Regions from separate parts of the Homo sapiens genome. Here regions 2 and 3 are each linked to region 1. Evidence: promoter capture Hi-C in 16 types of primary human blood cells and fetal thymus (Javierre and others, 2016). All regions are on one chromosome and are shown on one strand. The core of a region is centred on a gene start or on the middle of the fragment in contact, and the rest is flanking DNA. Distances in the headings are between cores, read along the strand shown. Region 1 holds the start of ADGRF1 (adhesion G protein-coupled receptor F1). Region 2 overlaps ADGRF5 (adhesion G protein-coupled receptor F5). Region 3 overlaps ADGRF5 (adhesion G protein-coupled receptor F5).

Region 1 (4,144 bases), core at 575-3,074:
CCACTTTCTTGCTCTAGTGATTAGTAGATTATTAATTCCATTTTATAAACACATTCTTACTAGGATGTCAGTGAATTACTTTAAACACTTGTAATTTAATATAGACAATAGGAAAGGGGTGGCACTGAACTGAGAAGATGGCATCTCTCATCTTAAAACTTTAGACATTGGACCTACTGAGTAAGAGTATGTATGTCTGGAAGTCTTTATCCTTTCGGAATTGAAATTTGGTCTACAGTTATAATTGGTGGACTGTGAAACAGGCAAAACCCTACAGAAAACAAGCAGAAGGAGAATGGAATTAACTCGACTAGATTATGAGATTAGCTTTTTTCCACCCAGGCTGATGGGGGACAAAGGAACAATGGTTGAAGCTTGAGTCTACCTGACAATTGGGGTTTGTCAGGTAAGCCCCATTCTCTTGATAACTTTTTCAGTGGGCTAGACCCAGACCCAATCATGTTAAGTATGATAGGGATCAGTGGCCCAGCTGGTGTGGAAGACAAGTGGGTCATACTGGGTTTAGGCCCACATAGCACTAAAGGTCTTCAACATGCAATTAGAAGCTCAAATGTTGACGGGAATATTGTTCACTCTAAAAAAGATGTTTCTATTAGAATTTACTTACTCTTTCATGAAAACATAGATGCTTCCTCTTTCCTGATTGTGAGAACAGTGTACCTGACTAGCTTCCCCTTTTCTTTAACTGTTAGGAAGTTCTGTCCTAGAGATAAGTTTCAAATTTATGAAACAATAATTTCAGGGATTATTATTTGCATCACTTTTCTTAATTGACTCTTTATAGTTTCCTTTTTTATAGTTTATATAGAGGTTTTATAATGATTTTAAAATTTTTATTCTCACACTATTTTATTTTATGCATTAACATTGTAAGCCAGCTCAAGTCATTTGTAAAACGTGGAGTGCTTAAAAGAAACAAAAGAAAATTAATAAATTAATTGAATTCAGAGACATCCTTTGCTTTCTTTTCAGTGGCATTTTTGAGAATTAACATATTATTATCCCCTTCATTATTCCATAACAGAATTACAAATTGCTAATTTAGACGTGGTTGTTAGTAGCTCATTACCTTGACCAAAAGTAATTTATGAGCCAATGTGGCTAAAGATACAGCACATAATAATCTTGACCTTTCATAGTTTTCAAACTGGATGACTCCTTGGAAAGAAAACAAATCTTTACTAAAGAAGTTAATCAGGTTTCACTCTAGGTTTTCTAAGCACAAAAAACACACCAAAAGCATTCACCCCAGCATCCACCCTGTTGCTGTCTTTTGCCACAGCTCCTTTGGTACTACCCCACCCAGAAGTCTGAGGTTGTTTTATCTGGGAAAGTAGCTAGTTGATTCTTTAGTCTTAAATAAAAAAGTTGGAAAAGGAAAAACAGTATCTACCCTTATTTCTGCCCCACAGGAATTACCCACCTCTCCTCATTGGAATTATGCATGAAGGGCTGCATTCCTTCAGCTTTATAGGGTATGACCCAGTGTGTTCAGAGGTTGGACAGGAAGATTTGATGGAGTAGCATTTTGTAGTAAACCGATCTAGGGCAAAAGTGTTCCACATTCCCCTAGAGCTTTTCTCTCCCATTTCCCTTCTGTGATTTCAGACACCCATTTATGTCTGCTGGGAGAATCATTAAGTCTTGAGCTCTGTGCTCCTTCCTCTTACCAGACCTGATAGTGACTTTAAGCGGGAGGGGGAGTTAGGAGAAAAGTATTTTGTTTCCTTCTTGAAGGGGGTGTGTCCCAGGCTTGTCTACCTGCACAGGCAGTAATGCGTGCCAGGAATTGCTGATGGATCAGTGAGCCTGTGTTCATGCCAGTGAGCTGCTGTGGCTCAGATACTGATACTTTCTTTCCAAACAGCATAAGAAGTGATTGAGCCACAAGTATACTGAAGGAAGGGCTCCCTCGAGTTCTGGTGTGAAGAGATAAATCACCAGGTAAGCCCAATAACTGTACTTTGATTACTAAGAACGTGTATTACGATGACCAGTACTACCTGTTAATCTGAGATTATTTTTTCTCTCCTTGAAAAAAAAATTCTGATTTCAATGTATCATTTCCTGAAGATGGTTAAATAAGGGAACAGAGTTGAAAAAGCAATGAGCAGAAACAACAGATTTCAACCCGCTTACTAACTATAATGAGGTGATTGGCTGAGGCTCAAGCTCCAGATTTTCTGACTGAAAGCACACTCTTCCCTCTGTGATAACACAGGAACCCCATTGTTCTGATGTGCCAGGGAGGTAGATTGCCTAGAATAAAAAGGGCTCCACCAAAGATACTTGTTAAAGTATCAGTCATATGGTTTTCACTAATTCATAATACGTTAACCCTTGCAATCTCTTAAAATAAAATTATGCTTGAGAGAATTAAGCTTATTTTTCCTTTAGGGTGAATTAGTTTAAGCTTTGCCTGGATCCATATATATCCAGGAAGTACTTCTCAATTTAACTCCTTCCCAGGACTCCAAAAAACCCTAGAATTGACTAACCATTTCTCCTGCTACTTCCCCAAATAAATATAAAATGTCACACTGTATTTTCTTAGTAGAGGCCTTGAAAATATATAATTTTTCTTTTCTCTTTTCTTTGTTTTCATGAAAAATCCATTTATGTAAACCTGATAGCCTATGTAATGTACCATGCCAGAGACTACATGAAGGAAAAATACCGAAGGAGATATAGAAAGAAGGTCAAGGTGGGAGAGGTGTGGAGAAGTGATGACCTTGGCTTTTTCATGCTGAGATCCATTAAGCTCAACTTGATAATAGCATTCATGGGCTGGAAATTACAAACAGAGGCAAGAATAACAAAAAATAAATAAAAGTACATTCTTTAATATGTTAGAATATTAACACAAGCCTTTTATTATGCTCTGTTGTCATTAAGAAAACACCACTCATTATCTAACCATAACCCAAATTGACAACAGTGTTCTAATAATGGTCCCATAATACTTTATTCAACCTTTGACAAGTAGTAAAACATTGAGCAAATTATTTAGTTGTCTTATCCTGGTTATTTCATTTGTAAAATGGTGCCAATAAGCGTTAAGATTGGAAATAGGAGTGTATGCCTGTGGAGTCTGACAAGCTCAACTTGCAAACTCACCTTTTGTGCACAACCCCAAGCTGATGTGAATTATTGTTGGATGCCTTGTATGTCTTTCTTCTCCAAAAGTAGAGTAAATTTCTTAAAAAACAGGGACAGTGTCCCAATAACAGGGTCTGTCTGTTGCTGGGCTGAGGGCAAGGAAAGCACCATACTTTCACAACAATGTGCCTTCTAATGTCTTTCATTACACAACTAAAGGAATGCAAACATCTCTTTAAAAAAGTAAATGAACACATTCATTCAAATTTGGATATAAATAAATGATTTTAGTGCTTTGGCTGAGAGTAAGTAAAGTAAAAACTGGCAGGAGCAAGAGGGCACTGGGTATCTGAGGGCATTAGCAGTGGTGGGGTGTGCGTCACAAGGGTGCACAAGTCAGAAAGTGGGGGAGTGGCATCCCCGGGACAAGTGTCACTGAATTCACAATTTTGCTTAAGGACACCCTTAGGAAACTGTGCTGTGTAACCTACCTAATCTAAATGTTTATATTTGTAACTTTCAAAATATTTTGCCTGTTTTTTTTTTTATTTTATTTTATTTTTTGAGACGGAGTCTCACTCTGTCGCCCAGGCTGGAGTGCAGTGGCGTGATCTCGGCTCACTGCAAGCTCCACCTCCCGGGTTCACGCCATTCTCCTGCCTCAGCCTCCCGAGTAGCTGGGACTACAGGCATCCACCACCATGCCTGGCTAATTTTTTGTATTTTTATTAGAGACAGGGTTTCATTGTGTTGGCCAGGATGGTCTCAATTTCCTGATCTCCTGACCTCGTGATCCTCCTGTCTCGGCCTCCCAAAGTGCTGGGATTACAGGCGTGAGCCACCACGCTCAGCCACCTGGTTCTCTTTTTAATGTTCTTTGGCAGGGAACACCCATAGCTTGTAGAGAAGGGGAAACGCTGTTGCCAAATACATATGTCTTGGGATTTTCCTAAATTGTGTTTGTCTTAGCAGAGTAGTGCTCGCAAGATTTCAAGGCCTTCAGATTTCTTGACTGGATAGATAC
Region 2 (4,144 bases), core at 554-3,053, 150 kb after region 1:
TTTTAGAATTTACTTTAGGAATTGTATATCAAAGTTCTAAAGACACATTTAACAATAATAACTCATATTTTTAATAGTACTTTAAAGTTTACAAAGTGGTCCCATTTACTTTGGTTCACATGGGCTGAGCTCCAAAATCTCTCTCTCTCTTTCTGTGTGTGTGTGTGTGTGTGTGTGTGTGTGTGTGTGTGTGTGTGTGTGTGTGTGTATTTGTGTATTCCCTAGGTGTATGTAATCCTCAGTTAAGTTTGGGGATCACTGGAGTAGATGATTTCCGAGAGTAAGCCAACAGCCTGCTAAATTACAGTGGTGTTTTTGAGCCTGTTTCAAATAATTGAGTATTTTCAAGGAGAAGGCATTTCCTTCTCTATTCGAGGTTCCCCATCCATATCAGTTTCTACAGAGGTGACGCTCAGGCTGAGGGTGATTCTGAAACTCTTTTTAGAAGCTGTTGGAGAACATAAAAGGTAAAGGAAAGAGGTCCTTAGAGGCTGGGTGCTCACATTAACAGCTGCAGGAATGCTATAGACTGAAACTTGCTAAGGTCACAAGAGCCTTTCCTCTTAGTTCTTGATGCTTTGGCTTGGCTCCTTGTAAAATCTGAGCAGAACTGCCTTGGTTTCAATGGGGAGTGATAACATCCGTGAATCACCATGTGCTTTCTAGGCACACACTTGTTCTTCAGTTGTGACTGAAAAGAGCACAGGGGCAGACATGACCCTCAGGCAGGCATTGATATTTTGTGGGATCAGGTCCTGGGATTCAACAAAGCCAGTAATGAAGTGGATATGATATGAATTTGTTACTGACCTCACCCATCCAAAAGGCAGCTACCATCCAGGAAATCCTGTTTATATTTATGGGAGGATAGTAGACTGGCATGGCAAAGAGGATCCTGGAGGTAGTGAACCCTCTGGAGGATATAAACGTTGCTGCATTACTTTTCAGGAAAAAGAATGTGCGCTAAGGCAGAACTTGTAAATATTATGCAGCCTTTCTCCTCGTAAATATTCCCAGTGGACCACATAATGTGTCCATAGTTAGAATCACATAAAATAAGATTAACCATTCTTCCAGGAAGCTTGTTTTCATCACAGAACCATTGGAGAATCAGAAAGTCAACAGGAAATTTTAGGCAATGCCATACTATCATCACAGGCTGAGTTTCCGCATTCTTATAAAAGTCACTTTATTCTATTTGTCAAATACATTTTTATAAAGAAGAAGTATACCTTAATATTCACTCTTAATTTTAGGAAAATATGCGACAGACCTTTTTTATAGGCTGAGTTAATTGCAGAAGCTGAATGATGCCAGGATGAAATAATTCTCAACAAGGTTGATGGGTAAATCCAAAGACCTAAGACAAACAGTTTTCCAAGCTAAATGAACAAATGTTACAGCTTTCTGAAATAAACATTCAACAATTAGAGTTTCCCAGGATAAACTTACTCTATTTTAGTATTTCACACCAAGAGTCCTTGGAATATTTAAATCTTGAAATATTATGGGAAAATTTTTTGCCCTTTTAACATAGAATTTTAACTTTATGGTACAATAAACTTCATCTTTTCAGATAGAATGTAAATTTTAAAGTAATCATTTTATAAGTATTCACTAATTTTTTCCTTATTTTTTTCTTTTTTTTGAGATAGAGTGTCTCTCGCCGCCCAGGCTGGAGTGCAGTGGCACGATATCAGCTCACTGCAACCTCTGCCTCCTGGGTTCAAGCGATTCTTCTGCCTCAGCCTCCTGAGTAGCTGGGATTACAGGCACACGCCACCATGCCCAGCTAATTTTTGTACTTTTAGTAGAGACGGGGTTTCCCATGTTGGCCAGGCTGGTCTCGAACTCCTGACCTCAAGTGATCTGCCCGCCTCGGCCTCCCAAAGTGCTGGGATTACAGGCGTAAGCCATGGCGCCCGCCCTACTTTTTTCCTTATTTAACTGACAAGATAAAATATTTTCAATGACTGGGCACAGCAGCTCATGACTATAATCTCAGCACTTTGGGAGGCCAAGGCAGGCAGATCGCTTGAGCCCAAGAGTTCAAAACAAGCCTGGGCAACATGGCGAAACCCCATCTGTACAAAAAGTACAGAAATTAGCTGGCCGTGATGGTATGAGCTTGTAGTCCCAGCTCCTCGGGAGGCTGAAGCCAGAGAATCACTTGGGCCCAGGAGGTGGAGGTCACAGTGAGCCAAGGTCGTGCCACTACACTCCAGCCTGGGCGACAGAGAGAGGTCCTGTCCAGAAAAAAGAAAAATATTCTCAATTTATCTGTGTAAAACTTTCTTATTCCTTGAAGATTCTTTATTAAGTATTAACTGTGGCCATGGCTTCAGTTATATATTCTAGCCAAGATTAGGTCATAGATCTGGTCAGTGACAGAGAGTTTCAGGTTTAACAAGAATTGATTCGTCATTTATTTATAATGTGGTGAGCTCTTTGCCAGATGGAGTAAGTAAGGCTAAGAGAAGTGAAAGAAACATGAAAGAAACAGTTCCTGCTCTTGGGAAGCTTAAAACTGTGGCCCAGACATGATGTGGTATAGAAAACTATGTATATATATATATATATATACACACACACATAATATATTATATATAGTGTTTATATATAATATATAACGTTTGTACAGACTATATATATAGACTAGACTAGACAGTCTAAATATAGTCTATATATGTATATATAGTAGTCAATATAGACTACCATAGTCAAGGTGGATCTGTTCCTCAACACACACCTACCTCAGGCAGGCCAGACTATATATATATATATATATATATATACACACACACACACACATATATATATAGTGTCTATATAAACATAGAGTAGACTATATATAGTCTCTCTCTATATATAAACTTAGACTATATATAGCATACTATATATAGACTTTAGTATATATACTATATAAAGACTATAGTCTTTATACTTTATGTAGTATATATACTATACAAAGACTATGTAGTCTCTATACATAGACTGTATATGGACTACTCTATATAGACTACTGTATATAGACTATATATACTATATTACTATACTATATATACTGTACTATATATACTATATAGTATATATAGTAGTCTATATATATAATTCTATATAGAGACTGTATATACTATATATACTCTCTCTATATATTTTATATATATATATATATATGTATACACATACACACACATATACATATATATTAGCCTGCCTGATGTAGCTGTGTGTTGGGGAACAGATCCATCTTGAATGCAAGCCAGGTAACCACCCGGAGACAATTTGGAAAAACAATGAAGAGCTGAAAATCTCTTTTATTTTACTATCCAATTTGCCAAACTTTTGTTGAGCACCTCAACAAAAGCAGTGTCCAGTTCTGAACACTGGAGATACAGAGGAAGAGCAAAGAATATATGCTGTTTCCATAGGCTAAGGGCAAAGAGAATTAACTGGGTGACTTTTCCCAGATGTCTTCAATCCATGCATGGTTCAGCCCTTAGAGTGTGCATCTATCGAATGATGCATACTGCAGATGAAACACTGACTCACTCCTTTGAGTCCTGACTGTGACATATTTTGCCCGAACAGTTCCCAGACCCTCCCTGCTATTCTCTCTGCTTCCGCTCTTGCCTCGTTACATTCCATACTTCACACAGCAGTGCTTGGCCTTGGACACCAAGGTGGTGAGTAAATAAACCTTCTTTTTCTCTAAAGATTTCATTAGAAATTCCTAAGGGTTGATAGACCAACCATTCACATGTACCTGTCATTACCTTTAACTGCTGAAATATCCATCATGATCTTACTCCATCTCCCATGGTAAGTTCTCTCAGCCTTCATGTGCTTTCATTGCAGTTGCCACAAAAAGTCCTACGGCTGAAGAATACACTGTTAATATTGAGATCAGTTTTGAAAATGCATCCTTCCTGGATCCTATCAAAGCCTACTTGAACAGCCTCAGTTTTCCAATTCATGGGAATAACACTGACCAAATTACCGACATTTTGAGCATAAATGTGACAACAGGTGAGTAAGAGACCCATTGCTTCAGAATAAATGATTGGATGTCTTGAGACAGACTGTCTGAGCTCCTGAGTATCAGAGCAATCTTTTACTTAGTAGGCAAGTGAAATGACTCACC
Region 3 (4,144 bases), core at 431-2,930, 130 kb after region 1:
ACATGTAACAGGACTTAATAAATGTTTTTCCAGTAAAGGAATACACAAATGAATAGATAAGGGAATAAATAGATTTACTTCGTGCAATAGATATAACAATAAATATAATACAAGCAGGAAGGCTAAAGGCCTAGACTAAGTGTGTGTAGGTGTTCAGGGGAAGTAGAGACTATTTATAACTGGACAGATCAGGAAACCTTCATCTGTGAGGGAGCCCTTTGCCTGGGCATTGAAGGATGGGTAGAATCTGAATATGCAGTGATTGTGTGGGGTTAGGGGACAGGAAAAGATGGAGATTAATAAACCAAATAAATGATAGGGTTATTTTGGTTTCGCCAAACACAGAAAAATTGTTTGACAGTAATTACTCCTGTCCCTCCCCAAAATTAATTCTCAAAGTTTGACTTGGCATTTTTACTTTTGCGTGAGCATTGGAAAATCTCTTGCACTATTTTAACTTATGAAAAAGCAGCTGACTTTGGTAGTGAAAGTATTATAGATGCTTATTACATATGCTAACTCTTCTAAATAAAGTCCAGGTTATGGAGAGCCTTGAGGATCAGTGAAAGTGATTTCCTTTATTCTGAAAGCAGGGAAAAATTGAACAGGGAATGTTGTGTGAAGAGTACTTCAGGAAAACCCATCTTGCCTCTCTGTAGAGAGGGAGCAGAGAAGTAAAGAAGGGAAGCCATTGCCATGGTGTACATGAGGGGCAGAGAAGGCCTAGACTGTGTAGTAAGTCAGAAGTGGTGAGATAAATGCAAGATAGTTATGATTATTCTCAGAAGTTAACCAGAGTGAGCCTGCATTTGAGTTGAAATAACTGTGAAGAATTTTAGACTCTTAAAATAGTAACAGGACTTCAAGAGACCAACTCCTGCATCCCAATTTTGAAATTATTGAGTGCAGTCAAATCCCTGGATTTACTGATAAGAAAACAGGCTCAGAGAGATAAAGTGACTTGCCCCACATCACACAGCTAATTAGTGGCAAAATGAGGCTAGAAGTTTTTTTCCAGTTGCCTGGTCAGGTGTCTATAACTTATAATTTGTTTGTTTGTTTGTTTGTTTGTTTGGTTGGTTGGTTGATTTCCCACCAAGAAAATCTCTTAGCTCAAATGGCACCTTGTTCTCAGGAGAATAGACTGCTTTGTTTATAATTTTGCCACTACCGTCTATCAGCTGTGTGGCCTCAGTGAATTAATCATCCTTCTAAGCTTCCTTTTCCATGTCTGAAAAATGGGGGTAATTTAATAGTATCAGAGGCTCCTTGAGAGGGTTAGAGGGCGTAACCCTTGCAGAGAGCTCAGCAGCAGACCTAGAATATAGTGAGCACCCAGTAAGACAGGACTCCTACATTCATTTTCACTAGCAATTATTACCCACCAATTATAATTAATAACCAATTAATAACCACTGGCAATTATTACCCACAATCCTATCCTACAGTCATTGTCACCAGCAATTATTACCCACCAATTATAATTAATAGCCAATTAATAACCACCAGCAATTATTACCCACAATCCTATCATAAATGGTTGCTCCAACTGTCGGAGGATATCATTGGCTAAAATTTTGAGAATCATTGGTAGATCTCTTGGAGTTCTGACGAACTCAGCTCCTAGCCACCTCTGAGCTCTGAGACACTCAGCTCTTTCTAGGCCTAGTTTTCTGATCTCAGGGCTGATGAAGGATTTCTAAGAGAAGAGTTGATCTTAAGCACTGATTGTTTCTCTATTTTTTATTTTATTTTATTTTATTTTATTTTATTGAGAGATAGGGTCTTGCTCTGTTAGAGGTTGGACTAGAATGGTGAAATCATAGCTCACTGCAGCCTCGAACTCCAGGGCTCATGGACTCAAGCCATCTCCCCACCTCAGCCCCCTGAGTAGCTAGGATTATGGGTGCATGCCAGTGCACCTGGCTATTTACAAAAAAAAAAACTTTTTTGTTTTTGTTTGTTTTGGTATAATACAGAGTCTCAGTTTGTTGCTCAGGCTGGTCTTGAACTCCTGGCTTCAAGTGATCCTTTCTCCTTGCCCTCTGAAAATGCTGGGATTGCAGGCATGCATTACCACACCCAGCCAGCACCGGTTGTTTCTAAGGGTTGTAAGAACAGGCCAGTTCCACAGTGAAGCTTCCTGGTGCATAATCACTCTGCAAGAGAATGCCATTAATGGTGGCTTCAGGGAACCCAGATCATTCATCCTCCAGATGCAGTGTTGCTGAGAATCTTGATGACTTATTCCTGGCATATGATGTCAGGCTGTGCTTTATTTTCCTCTCCCTGTCTTCTAACTTCACAGACAGGAAAATAGAGTCAGAGGAGACCAGGAAGTTGCTCAGAGCCGCAAGGCTAATACTGAGGGCTAGGGCATATTTCCCAGCTTTGGTGAGTTTTAGTAGAGAGTGTCCTGGATTTTAATTTAAAAAGAGAAGGAGATCGGGAATGACATCTGATAATGTTCTTTCTTTCTCTGCCTCTGTTTCTCTCTTTGTCTCTCAGTCTTTGTCTGCCGTTTACTCCAGGAATTTTAGAAGAAATATGAACTTTTAGGGAATTTAGCATTAAAGGGCCCCTACTGAAGACAAACTGCCTTGAATATGGGATGCTGCTCCATATTTTTAACTGGATGAATATAGACTTTTCCCCCACATTGGCCAAGTTAAACAGTTTTTGCTTGCTTCCTCACAGGTATGGATACCTGTGAGCTGGAAGGTTTATACGATTAATGATGCAGGTTAAAGAAAAGTTGATCTTTAGGTCTCTACCCAAGTGTGGCAGCAACCCCAAAAGCTGAAGTGAATTTCAGCTCGTGTCACTGTTCCCATTGGTCAGGTCCATTCCATACAGGTTGTCAAATATATTGACTATTTCCTTTCTTTCAAAGTGGTGGCTTTCTCCTTTCTTTTGAGTGAAGAATCCCTGACATTTGTGTGTAACTGATGACTGTATATCATCTTCTGCATCCAGAGAACACCCGCCTCCCCGTGGTAGCATCCTTCCTACATCTCCATTTCTTTTGGCTTGCAATCTTGTTGTCAACAAATAAGTCAACATAGATAAGAATGTTAATTTATTAAAAATAGTCTCAGCAGAGGCAGGGGTGGGGGAAGATGGGGACAGTATTGGCCAATGGCCTGTACAAAAGGGCCAGACATGACTATTTGAAAACATTGTAATTCTTGCTAACTGACCAAAAAAAGGATGCAATGCCAACACTGGGAAATCGTAGAAAGATATGGAGCCAGCTCTAGTCCTTCTAGTATGTGAGTTCTTCCTTGGTTATCAGATTCGAAGGGAGGCTCATTAACTATTCAGTTACTAAGTCTCGTCTCCTTGATTAACTGCCTCAGTAGGGAACCAACTGAGGTTGGGGCCTGAAAAGACTACTTTGCCTCCTAAATACCTGACTCATTCTGTATTAGCCTGTTCAATACCCACAAAGACACACTGTCTTTCAAAAAGGAAGATAAAACTTCCAATAGAAAATTAAGCAGTACATTGCTATGATTTCCCCATAGCAGATGCATCTGGTCTTAAACAACTACTATAACCTAAATTGCAAAGCATTTCCCCCAAACCATTGAGTTGCAGAATTTAAAAAATGTGTTTGATTGCCAAATTTGCAAATTGGATCAGTTTTCCAGTTTTCCACTGAGGAAGAGGAAAAGGTGGCAGTTGTCAGCTGGCAATTGAAATACAATTTTCCCTGGCATGTAAATCTTGCCTATCATCAGTGTGTTATCCTGGCCATGCTTACCTGGCGCTCCCTGCAACACTGCAGCCAAAGCCTGCCCTTCTGGATGGTTGCATTCTGGATTCTATTGACGATCAGAGTAATAATTATTGCAGCCTGCATTTCTGGAGTTCTTCATGCCTTTTAATCTCATTCGAGTCTCAGAAAACTCTGTGAGAGAATTAGGGGAGGTACAATTATCCCCGTTTTACAGATGGGAAAACTTGGACTCAGAGAAGACAAATTACTTACACAGGACACAGTTAGTTTCTAGTAATCCTGGATCCTAACCCATATCTTGTGTCTCTCAGTCTAGCATTCTTTTCACAACAACACCTGGGCATAGAAAAGCTACAAGGAGAGGAGTGTGCACAAAGTAGATTGTCTTGGTCCCTAGACCTT

Evidence for each region. Contacts are between HindIII fragments. The CHiCAGO score rates a contact against its expected background, and 5 or more counts as called.
Region 2: a fragment that was not itself captured here is called in contact with the fragment with the promoter of ADGRF1 in region 1 in 1 of 17 cell types (endothelial precursors); the score reaches 6.5 in endothelial precursors.
Region 3: a contact is called between a fragment that was not itself captured here and the fragment with the promoter of ADGRF1 in region 1, in 1 of 17 cell types (endothelial precursors). The highest score is 5.1, in endothelial precursors.

Annotation. Positions count from the first base shown.
Region 1 is chr6:47,040,012-47,044,155 of GRCh38, reverse strand. It overlaps ADGRF1 (adhesion G protein-coupled receptor F1), which reads left to right and starts at 1,824. Exons shown (of 15, transcript NM_153840.4): 1 at 1,824-1,965. The HindIII fragment of the contact is 2,028 bases long and covers 377-2,404 here.
Region 2 is chr6:46,888,220-46,892,363 of GRCh38, reverse strand. ADGRF5 (adhesion G protein-coupled receptor F5) reads left to right here. Exons shown (of 21, transcript NM_001098518.2): 4 at 3,859-4,029. LOC124901488 (a long non-coding RNA gene) reads left to right here and starts at 4,036. Exons shown (of 2, transcript XR_007059921.1): 1 at 4,036-4,144. The HindIII fragment of the contact is 1,439 bases long and covers 1,084-2,522 here.
Region 3 is chr6:46,907,637-46,911,780 of GRCh38, reverse strand. All of the region lies in intron 1 of ADGRF5 (adhesion G protein-coupled receptor F5), which reads left to right. ADGRF5-AS1 (ADGRF5 antisense RNA 1) reads right to left here. Exons shown (of 4, transcript NR_110658.1): 3 at 3,767-3,913; 4 at 1,752-3,037. Among named protein-coding and RNA genes, the nearest start is that of ADGRF5-AS1, 6.2 kb to the right of the region's middle. The HindIII fragment of the contact is 923 bases long and covers 1,219-2,141 here.